Linked DNA regions of Homo sapiens: region 1 is linked to region 2. Evidence: promoter capture Hi-C in 16 types of primary human blood cells and fetal thymus (Javierre and others, 2016). All regions are on one chromosome and are shown on one strand. Each heading gives the region's core, a stretch centred on a gene start or on the middle of the fragment in contact. The rest is flanking DNA. Distances are from core to core; before and after follow the strand shown. Region 1 has its middle 20 kb from the start of OLR1. Region 2 holds the start of CLEC2B (C-type lectin domain family 2 member B).

Region 1 (5,618 bases), core at 2,645-5,144, 280 kb before region 2:
CGAGCCACCATGTCCCTCTAATTTTTGTATTTTAGTAGGGGCGGGGTTTCACCATGCTGGCCAGGCTGGTCTCGAACTCCTGACCTTGTGATCCGCCCGCCTCAGCCTCCCAAAGTGCTGGGATTACAGGCGTGAGCCACCGCACCCGGCCAGATTCAGTTTTTTTTAGATGTTGAGCTGTTCAAAGGATTCCTTCTTCAATGAGCTTTGGTGGTTACTTTCAAGGAATTTATGAGCTTCATCTAAGTTGTTTAATTTATTGGCATACCATTTTTAAAAATTATTTGAATATCTGTAGAATCTTTAGCATTGCCACTTCCTTCCTGACAGTGTTAATTGTATCTTTTTTTTTTAAAACTAATCGGCTTAGCTAGAGATTTATCAATTTCATTTTTCTTCTCAAAAAAGCTATTTGGTCAACAGAGACAAGATGGCCAAATAGACGCAGACAGGAAGCACCACTCCCGCTGACAGAAAGGGAGACCGGGAACCCTTTCAGGTTCTGGAACACCAGTGCCAGTTCCTGGCCCTGAACAACCCTTGGCAAGGCAGCCCACTCTTGCTGTGGACCTCTAGGATTCCAGCCACAAGAGATCCTACACTCCCCATAAACATTCGAACTGGCATGGGGATATGCCCTACAAGCAGGCAGAGGCAGAACTCCAGCCTGCATAGAGCCCGGTTTTTGTTGTTGTTGTTGTTTGTTTGTTTGTTTTGCGTTGGGGGCAGTTCCAGTGGAACATGGCCATGCGCACCCATCCCCCAAGGCTCTCCGTCCTCTTCCGAATAACTCTAACCCCACTGACTGCCGCGCAAAGAGAACAGCAGGGTCGACTTTCCCTTCGGAGTGGGGCACTTCTGTTCCGCAGGACCTCCTGCCCTCCAGCCCCTCTCAAGTCCTCTGCCTGGCCGCTCTAGGAGCCTGTCAACGGTGCAGACTCCACTGCCCATCCTGGGTGCTTTGCAGGCCGACATGCCTGACTGAGTTCTTTCCCAGCCGCTTGGGAGCAGTTCCGAGGCCCCGTCGCAGCCCGTGCCGGAACCTGGGGTGCAGGATGGCGGATGTGCTGGCTGGGGCCAAAGCCCTGGGCTGCGGCGTGCAGCGCCGCAGTGCGGGACCCAGATTCATGGCCTGCGCTCCAGCGGGCAAGGAGTCCCGAGTCTCAGAAAACCGAGGGAGTGATATGCCCAGATTAGGGGCAGGCGCGGAAGGTCTGCCAGCCATGGGTGTCCGCCTGAGGGAGCTGCCCAGCCCGGACAGCCTAGCAAAGGAAATGCGGGAATGACGATAGTGACTGGAGAGGACTCTCCGAAGGCTTGAGAGCGGAGCTGGTGGGGTCAGCTCCCCGCGCTGGGCCACACCACAGGACGTTGTTGCGAGCTCGCTGAAACGTAAAAACCCGCAGCGCTGGCCGTTACTCTTATGCGCCATCTGCTGGATGATAGCCCAAATTACACCAAAAATATTCTGCCAATATATTAAATATTGGTCTGTGAAACTCAGGGCAAGAATCCAGCCACAAAGATCTTGTACAGAGCCTTGGCCCTCTGACAGCACTCATAAATGAAGCAAATGACTATATTCAACTTACACCACAGTTAAAGGAATACCAGCCCTCTCAGAAGAGAAAGAATTTTGCCAATTAAAAAGTAAGAGTGTCCCCTTACCTCCAAATGAGCACACTAGCTCCCCAGCAATGGCTCTTAACCAGAATGAAATGACAGACACAGAAATGAGAACCTAGATGGAAAGAAAGCTCACTGAGACTCAGGAGGCTGTTGAAACGCAATCCAAGGAATCCAGTAAAATGATCCAAGAGCTGAAAGATAAAAGACTTTTATTTATTTATTTATTTATTTATTTTTGAGATGGAGTCTTGCTCTGTCACCCAGGCTGGAGTACAGTGGCACGATCTCAGCTCACTGCGACCTACACCTACCAGGTTAAAGCGATTCTCCTGCTTCAGCCTCCCAAGTAGCTAGGATTACAGGCGAACACAACCAGGCCTGGCTAATTGTTTGTATTTTTTGGTAGAGACAGGGTTTCGCCATGTTGGCCAGGCTGGTCTTGAACTCCTGACCTCAAGCGATCCACCTGCCTTGGCCTTCCAAAGTGCTGTGATTACAGGCGTGAACCACCACACCCAGCCTGAAAAAAATAATTTTAAGAACGAACCATACTGAACTTCTGGAATTGACACATTTACTACAAGAATTTCATAATACATTTGGAAGCATTAATAGCAGAATAGACCAAGCTGTGAAGAAATTCAAAGACTGGTTCTTTGAATCAACTCAGTCAGACAAAAATAAAGAAGAAATAATTTTAAAAAAATGGACAAAAGCCCTGAGAAATATGGAATTATATAGAGAGACCAAACCTATAACTCATTGGTATTCCTGAGAGAGGAGAGAGAGTAAGCTATTTGGAAAATATATTTGAGGATACGATCCATGACAATCTCTCCACTCCCACTAGAGATGTTAACATACAAATTTAAGAAATATAAGGCCTGGCGTGTTGTCTCATGCCTGAATCCCAGCATTTGGGAGGCCAAGGTGGGTAGATCACTTGAGGTCAGGAGCTCAAGACCAGCCTGGCCAACATGGCAAACCCGTCTGTACTAAAAATACAAAAATTAGCTGGACATGGTGGTGCATGCCTGTAATCCCAGCTACTTGGGAGGCTGAGGCAGGAGAATCGCTTGAACCTGGGAGGCAGAGGTTGCAGTGAGCCAAGATCGTGCCATTGCCCTCCAGCCTGGGCAACAAGAGTGAAACTCCATCTCAAAAAAAAAAAAAAAAGAAGTACAGATAACCCCCATGAGATACTAGACACAACAAGCATTCCCAAGGCACATAGTTATCAGATTCATCAAGGTTAATGCAAAAGAAAAAATGTAAAGGCATCTAGAGAGAAGGGTCAGGTCGTTTACAAAATGAGGACCATCAGGCTAGTAGCAGACCTCTAAGCAAAAGCCTTATGAGTCAGAAGAGATTGGGGCCTATTTTCAGTGTTCTTAAAGAGAAGGAATTCCAACCAAAAAATTTATGTCCTGATAAACTAAGCTTGACTGGTGAAGGGGAAATAAATTTCTCAGACAAGCAAATGCTTAAGGGAATTTGTTACCACTAGACTAGCCTTACAAGACGTCTTTATAGGAGTGCTGTAAAGATGGAAATGAAAGAATGATACCTGCTATCACAAAAATGCATTTAACCACATAGCCCACCAACAATATAAAGCAACTATGCAATAGAAACTACAAAGTCACCAGCTAAGAACATGATGACAGGATCAATGTCACATATCAGTACTAACTCTAGGCCAGGCACAGTGGCTCATGCCTGCAATCGCAGCACTTTGGGAGGTCGAGGTGGGCGGATCACTTCAGGTCAGGAGTTCACAACCAGCCTGGCCAACATGGTGAAACCCCATCTCTACTAAAAAATACAAAAATTAGCTGAGCATGGTGGTGTCTGCCTGCAGTCCCAGCTTCTCAGGAGGCTGAGGCAGGAGAATCACTTGAACCCAGGAGGCAGAGGTTGCAGTGAGCCAAGATCGTGCCACTGCATTCCAGCCTGGGTGACAGAACAAGATTCTGTCTCAAAAAAAAAAAAAATTATTCTGGTGTGGTGGTGCATGCCTGTAATCCCAGCTACTCGGGGGGCTGAGGCATGAGAATCTCTTGAACCCAGGAGGTGGAGGTCACAGTGAGCTGAGATCGTGCCACTGCACTCCAGCCTGGGTGACACAGTGAGACTCTGTCTCAAAAAAATGAAATAAAATAAAAAATAAAAATACAATCAAACAGGAACTGAATGAAATTGAGTTGCAAAACACCATATGAAAGATCAATGAAACCAAGAACTGGTTCTTTGAAAGAATAATCATGATTGATAGGCCATAAGGTAGGTTAATAAAAAAAAGAAATAAGCACAATCAGAAATTACAAAGATGAGATTACAACAAATTCCTCAGAAATACAAAGGATCCTAAGAGACCATTATGAAAATCTCTATGCAAATTAAAAATCTAGAGGAAATGGATAAATTCCTGGAAACATATAACTTCCCAAGATTGAACCAGGAAGAAAGCAAAAACCTGAACAGACCAATAACAAATTCCAAAATTGAAACAATAATAAGAAATCTACCAACCAACAAAAGTCTTGAACAAGATGGCTTCAGAGCTGAATTATAGCAGATGGACAAAGAAGAAGTAGTACAAATTCTACTGAAATTATTACAAAAAATTGAGGAGAGGGCTCCTCCCTAACTCATTCTATGAAGCCAGTATCATTCGGACAGAACAAAAAAGAAAACTTGAGGCCAACATCCTCAATAAACATAGATGCAAAAATCCTCAGCAAAATACCAGCAAACCAAATCCAGTAGCAGATCAAAAAGTTAATTCACCACAATCAGTTGGGTGCAGTGGCTCATGCCTGTAATTCCAGCACTTTGGGAGTCTGAAACAGGAGTACTGCTTGAGCTCAGGAGCTCGAGACTAGCCTGGGCAACATAGCGAGGCCTGTCTCTAAAAAGAATAAAAATTAATAATACAAAAAAAAGTTAATTAACCACAATGAAGTAGGCTATATCTATGATTCAAGGTTGGTTTGACATATGCAAATCAATATATGTGACTCACCACATAAACAGAATTTAAAATAAAAATTATATGATCCCATCTCAACAGACATGGAAAAAGCTTTCAGTAAAATCCAACCTCTTCTTATGGTTAAAAAAAAAAACCTCAACAAACTAGGCATTAAAGAAAGATAACCTCAAAATAATAAGAGTCGTCTAAGACAAACCCACAGACAACATTATATTGAATGGGCAAAAGCTGGAAAAATTTCCCTTGAGAACTGGAACAAGATAAGGATGTCCACTTTCACCACTCCTATTCAACATAGTACCAAAAATCCTAGCCAGAGCAATCAGGCAAGAGAAAGACTTAAAAGGTATCCAAATAGGAAAAGAAGTCAGACTATCTCCCTTCACTGACAACATGATTCTATACCTAGAAAACTCTAAAGACTTCGCCAGTATGCTCCTAAAACTGATAAATGATGTTAACAAAATTTCAGGATACAAAATCAATGTACACAACTTAGTAGCATTTCTAAACACCAGTAACATTCTAGCTGACAGCCAAGTTAAGAGCATAATCCCACTTATAATAACCACTAATAAAATGATTATTGGGAGTACCACTAAACAAGGAGGTGAAAGATCTCTGCAAGGAGAACTGCAAAACACTGCTGAAAGAAATCAGAGCCAATACAAATAAATGGAAAAACATGTCATGCCCATGGATTGGAAGAATCAATATTGTTAAAATGGCATACTGCCCAAAGCAATGTACAGATTCAATGCTATTACCATCAAATTACAAGTATCATTTTTCACAGAATTAGAAAAAACAATCCTGAGATTCATACAGAACCAAAACAGAGCCTGAATAGTCAAAACAATCCAAAGCAAAAAGAGCAAAACTGGAGGCATCATGTTACCCAACTTCAAACTATACTATAAGGCTACAATAACCCAAAGAGCATGATAGTAGTACAAAAACAGACACATAGACTGAGGGAACAGAATAGAGAACC
Region 2 (5,218 bases), core at 2,719-5,218:
CAAGGGTTCTCGAGCCAATTGTTAAACATCATTATTTTTAAAAATTATCTAAAGTAACTTTTGCACCAACAGTAAGGTGCATAAATGTGCTTTGGTCAAGAAGTAGGCTGAGGCAGACATCCAGGCCATAGTGACTTAATGAGTTTGGAGTGCAGGCATATAACTCCACTTGTTATATAACCTGTTTGTGTAAGCTCATACTTGGCTCAAATCCACTATTGTTTGGAAAAGGTATAACTGCCCTGCTGATGCTGTACAGGCGCTCTTGGGCTTGCCTTGGCTCAGCATGGCGTGGCATGGCATGACATGGCTCGCACTGGTGCCCAGAAAGAGAGTAGCACTATTGACCCTTGTAAGGGAGAGCCAGTCGCCTTGAAGGCAGGCAGAGGGGAACCAGGAACGAGCTTGTGCCCAGAGGGAAAGAGTTAAGCTGCTAATCCTGACAGAGCTGGCCTTGCAGGCCAGGGCGTGCTGCTGCAGGCGTGGCGGCGGCAGGAGTCCCAGAGCCAGAGCAGACAGCGGAGATAAAGGCAGACAGTGTGAGAGAGTCGCTGTTGGTAAATAAAACTACATTTCACCTGCTTAGGGCCCCCAAGTGTTCTTTCAGCTATCGCCCATCCACCCACTCCCCTCAGACCTCAGCATGGGCTGGAACCTAACCTGGGTCATGACATTTGGAGTCATTGTGGCCCTAATGCCAAGCTAATAAAATAAATACTTAGAACTCATCAATTTGTGATGATTTTTAGAAGATTTTGCTATTATCCATGCATGAAATTATTAACATCTGTTACATCCGTATAGTGAAAATAATACGTAATGCTGTACTACTGCATATTTATTTCCAACTCTGTGTGTTCAGTGATGTCACCTGGGTACCTTGAAATCAGCAATGGTGGGAATAATTACATCACGGAAATCAGCTGGTGTTACAAACCAGAGCTTGTTATGTGTGTGTTTTTCTCTGTTCCACCAGTTGTTAAAGGACAGCACAGAAGTGGAAGCACCCTTTTTGGCTCTCTATATTACTTCTGTGAACATTGAGCTCTATCTGACATTGCTATGGCTCTATATGTCAGTAATCCTGGCTGCTATTGCAATTTGACCCTCATTACTATAATTGGCCCCAGCTTGTTTCAGAGTGGCACTCTGACACTTGGCGTTTCCTACTTCAAACCCTGTCCCAATACTCTCTCTGAATTCAGTTCTGTGGGAACATCTCCCACTGTAATCTTTGGCATGTAGAGAAGAACTATGCTAAGCTTCTCAGTGATGTTTATGTAGGACTTAAGTTCTTCCACCAGCGCCTTCCTTACTGCTTTGGTAAATAAGGTGCCCATTATATCATCCCATAGAACATAGTCAGTTGGTGGGTTTCCTGTCCTTATCTAGTTTATCCACTGTAGCATGCCCACTTCTCTAAGCATTTTTATCTTTTCTTCAGCTACCTGCCATGGGAATTCTGGAATGTTACTCTACTCAGCGTGAGCCATTGCTTTCTCCAATCTTCTTGGAGTTATTTCAGCAGTATGTCAGCACTGTTCACAGTATTTTTCCAAGTTATTAAATTCTGTATTGCAACTGAATGCCCTAATGTTGATAAAATCTCCCTTATCCAGCTTTATGTTTCTCTCATGATCTAGCACCCTCAGAATCCAATCCCATTGTGTACACTCCAAGCTGTTGTTATTATATATTGGTTAGGTCCAAATTCATTCTGAGTATAGCCCTTTCTCTCCCTTATAAGCTTAGCACATAACCTTAGTTATTGGCCTTATGACCAATAACTAAGAAAGGCAAGTAAGGGAGGGATTCCTGTAAGGAGGGTGTGAAGGGCACAATATTTTCTTTAAGGAAAAAGGCATGACCTCGACAAGGGAGAACATGTAACTTTGTTAGGATTAGAGAGTCCAACGTTTAGAAGCTTCTAGATTTTTAAAATTTTTGAGAAAAAAAATTGTGAAAAGTCACTATACAAATGATGGAAAGTATTTTTAATACATTTATCTAAAAATGGAATTTTTCTATATTATGTTGCAACCCATTTTACTTATTTATATACACATTTTTATGTGTATGTTTCTCTACATATATATTTACATATATATAAAATCTTAAAAATCACCATAAGGAAACAAATAAATCCATAAAAATGGGAAAAATATTTAAATAGGTCATTGAAAAAAGATATATGAGTTACCAATACGCACGTGAGTAAATGCTCAATATAACATCAGAGATGTACAAATTAAAATCACATTTAGATTCTACTACACGCCTACTAGAATGGTTAAATTGAAAAAGATTGGGCATATCTAATATTGCTATTTATGTGGAGCAAATAGAACCATCCAATATTCATGTTGGGAATGGCACAACTTTTTGGAAAAAAATACATTTATAAAATAAAACATACATTTTCTATGTAACCTAGCAGTTTCACATCCAGGTATTTCTTCAAAAGATTAAAAAACGTGTCAATAGAAAAACTTTTGCATAAATGTTTATTTTGACCTTATGATATCCAAGAAGTGGAAAAAGCTCAATGTCATAATGGATACATTTTATTATAAAATAGATAAAAATATTTTATGTCTGTACAATGAAATACTACTCAGTAATAAAAAGAAATTAACTGCTGATCTGTGCAAAAACATGGATAAAACTCAAAAACATTATGCTCAGTGAAAGACATCAGACTTACAAGAATTGCCAACTGTATCATTCTGCTTAACAGGAATTTCTAAAACCAGCAAAGCTCATGTTTATTGACAGTAAGTTGGCTGCTGCCTGGCTTCAGGGGTGAGGATGAACTGCAAAGCAACAGCGGGGAACATTTCCCTGTGTTGAAAATGTTTTATATCTTAACTGTTGTATCTTGACTGTTTTCCTTTTTGGAACAAAACTAAATTTCACTCAACCATACTTGAGTAATCTCTATATTTTTCTATACATGCTTTTCTAATAGTTCTTTGGATACAATCTTTTGTTAACAACAAAGGTAGAATATATTCATTTCCTCATGAATTTTCTGTCTTTTTTTTCTGTCCAAAAATGAAAAGAGCAATTTTGTTATCTGTCCTTTCCTTCTGCCCAGAAATGATTAAACCTGTATTTCTTATTCTCTTCATATTTTCTTTGTTTTAATTCCTTTGTACTACAGTTTCTTCTCTATTCTCATTTGCTTTTCCTCTTCAAGTTTCTCTCTCAGAACAAATGCAGTGTTAATCCCGAAGCCGCTTGCGGGACACTGGCTTCTTCTCCTCAGTTTCCTCCCTAATATATTTGTTGAGGGGTAATACAAAATCACTGGGAAACTGATTAGAGCAGATTTGAAGACAAAATTGTGGCCTGGTAACTTAGCAAAAGCATAATGGTGTCATCTTGTATGCTGATGATAACGTTCTGGGCACTTTGTTACTTTCGTTTTCTTTTTTCCCTCTGTGTGTCTTTGTGTGTGTTTGTGTGTGTGCTCACACCCACACGTGTGACTTTGCACGCATTTGTCTTTGAGAGAGAGATAATAGTTTTTGTTTTTCTTTCAGTAGCCAAAGTTTAAACCATTGCTTTTTCTTTGATTCTATCGCTTTTAAGGTGATCTTTCTTAACACAGGATAAGAAAGCAGTAATGTCCTAAAGAATGCTGTTGAATTAATTAGTATCAGCCTCTCCTACAGTTCTGGAAGGATACGTGGTTAAGTACCACTCCTGGATGAATCAGAAAAACAGCCACTTGAGCAATTTCGTGTTCTGTGGTTCAGATGAGAATCCCAGTTGAGAAAGTAAGAAAATATGTGTTTATTCTTCAGCTTTAAATTGTTATATCACAAACTTCCTTCCTCCTTGGCAAGCTTTCTTTTTTGACGAGAAGAAAATTGTAATAAACAACAGTATGACTAATAGATAGTCACATGGTTACTTCCAGTTTGCAAAATGCTATTTATACTTTGAGTTACTCTTCAAAAGTGGTATACCTCTAGTTTGGAGCTGTGCTGTAAAAACAAGAGTAACATTTTTATATTAAAGTTAAATAAAGTTACAACTTTGAAGAGAGTTTCTGCAAGACATGACACAAAGCTGCTAGCAGAAAATCAAAACGCTGATTAAAAGAAGCACGGTAAGAACATTTTTGTTTGTTTAGAATGACCGTTATTTATTGAAATTGTGATGCAGAATGTTAAAGCCTTCGAGAAAAGAATTAAATTTTGTGGTTTCTTTTGTGAAACTAGAAAATTCCTTCTTATAACAAGATTGAGATTTGCATATGACTGTTTTGTCCTAATAAATTCAGACTTACTTTACATTATTTGAATTACAATGGAGAAGGATTAACCATGACTTAAAACTGCTCAAGATTTAGTTTCATTTTTACTAAGTATTTTATAAAACAAATACTTGAGAAGATGATAGATATGATCCAGATACTCATACAGTTCTCAGAATGCATACATAATATGATAAATTTAGCCAATAGTTCTAATATTTTTAAAGATTGCTTTATTGGATGGTGTAAAGATACTCCGGGCTTTAGGAGTACTTAACGGAAAGAATATATCCCTTTCCTACTCTTACTAAGGAATTGCTAGTACTCCGATATCCATGGAGATGTCTTTACCAACCCTAAGAAGGATAAGGAAAGAAAATGTTCTAAAAAATACACTATGAAACAACCTGGTAACATTGGATTTATTAAATAGCAAGTTCGGAATATATAAGATCCAAGCTACATCTTTGAGATTTCAACAGGGTTTATTTATGTCAAAATATTTGAAAGAGAAAAGGCTGAAACTAAATGCATTCAATACAACGATCTATGATTTAGAGATTTAGGGACTGTGATGAGCTTTAAGCATTTCCCGTTTAACTAAATGTCAACCTACCAGCGTATGCTACGGTCAAAAAAATTATTGCTGTGGTACAATAGAATGCACACTTTATCCTTCCTCCCGTATTTTAACCGGTTTTATAATTCTGCCTAAAGTTAGATAAAACAGGTTTGCGGGGAATGAGATCAATATTTGATGGTAGCATAAAATATCATTTTAATCAAAAGTTTTAAGAAGGCCTTCCAGCCACTAGTAAAACCAGTGTTATTTTCTACTTTCAATCAATTGTATAAATTTATACATTTGTATATAAATACATTATATAATACAATATTATATATCATATTACATATGAATATATTTTAAAAGTTACTGAATAATATATTCAGTAT

Evidence for each region. The method cuts DNA at HindIII sites, captures the fragments that hold promoters and counts their contacts. A CHiCAGO score of 5 or more calls a contact.
Region 1: a contact is called between a fragment that was not itself captured here and the fragment with the promoter of CLEC2B in region 2, in 1 of 17 cell types (monocytes). The highest score is 5.5, in monocytes.

The regions. Positions count from the first base shown.
Region 1 is chr12:10,149,216-10,154,833 of GRCh38, reverse strand. No RefSeq gene overlaps it. Among named protein-coding and RNA genes, the nearest start is that of OLR1, 20 kb to the left of the region's middle. RefSeq lists enhancers at 901-1,090, 1,101-1,190, 1,045-1,548. The HindIII fragment of the contact is 1,645 bases long and covers 3,072-4,716 here.
Region 2 is chr12:9,868,104-9,873,321 of GRCh38, reverse strand. It overlaps CLEC2B (C-type lectin domain family 2 member B), which reads left to right and starts at 3,968. Exons shown (of 5, transcript NM_005127.3): 1 at 3,968-4,117. The HindIII fragment of the contact is 5,556 bases long and covers 3,854-5,218 here.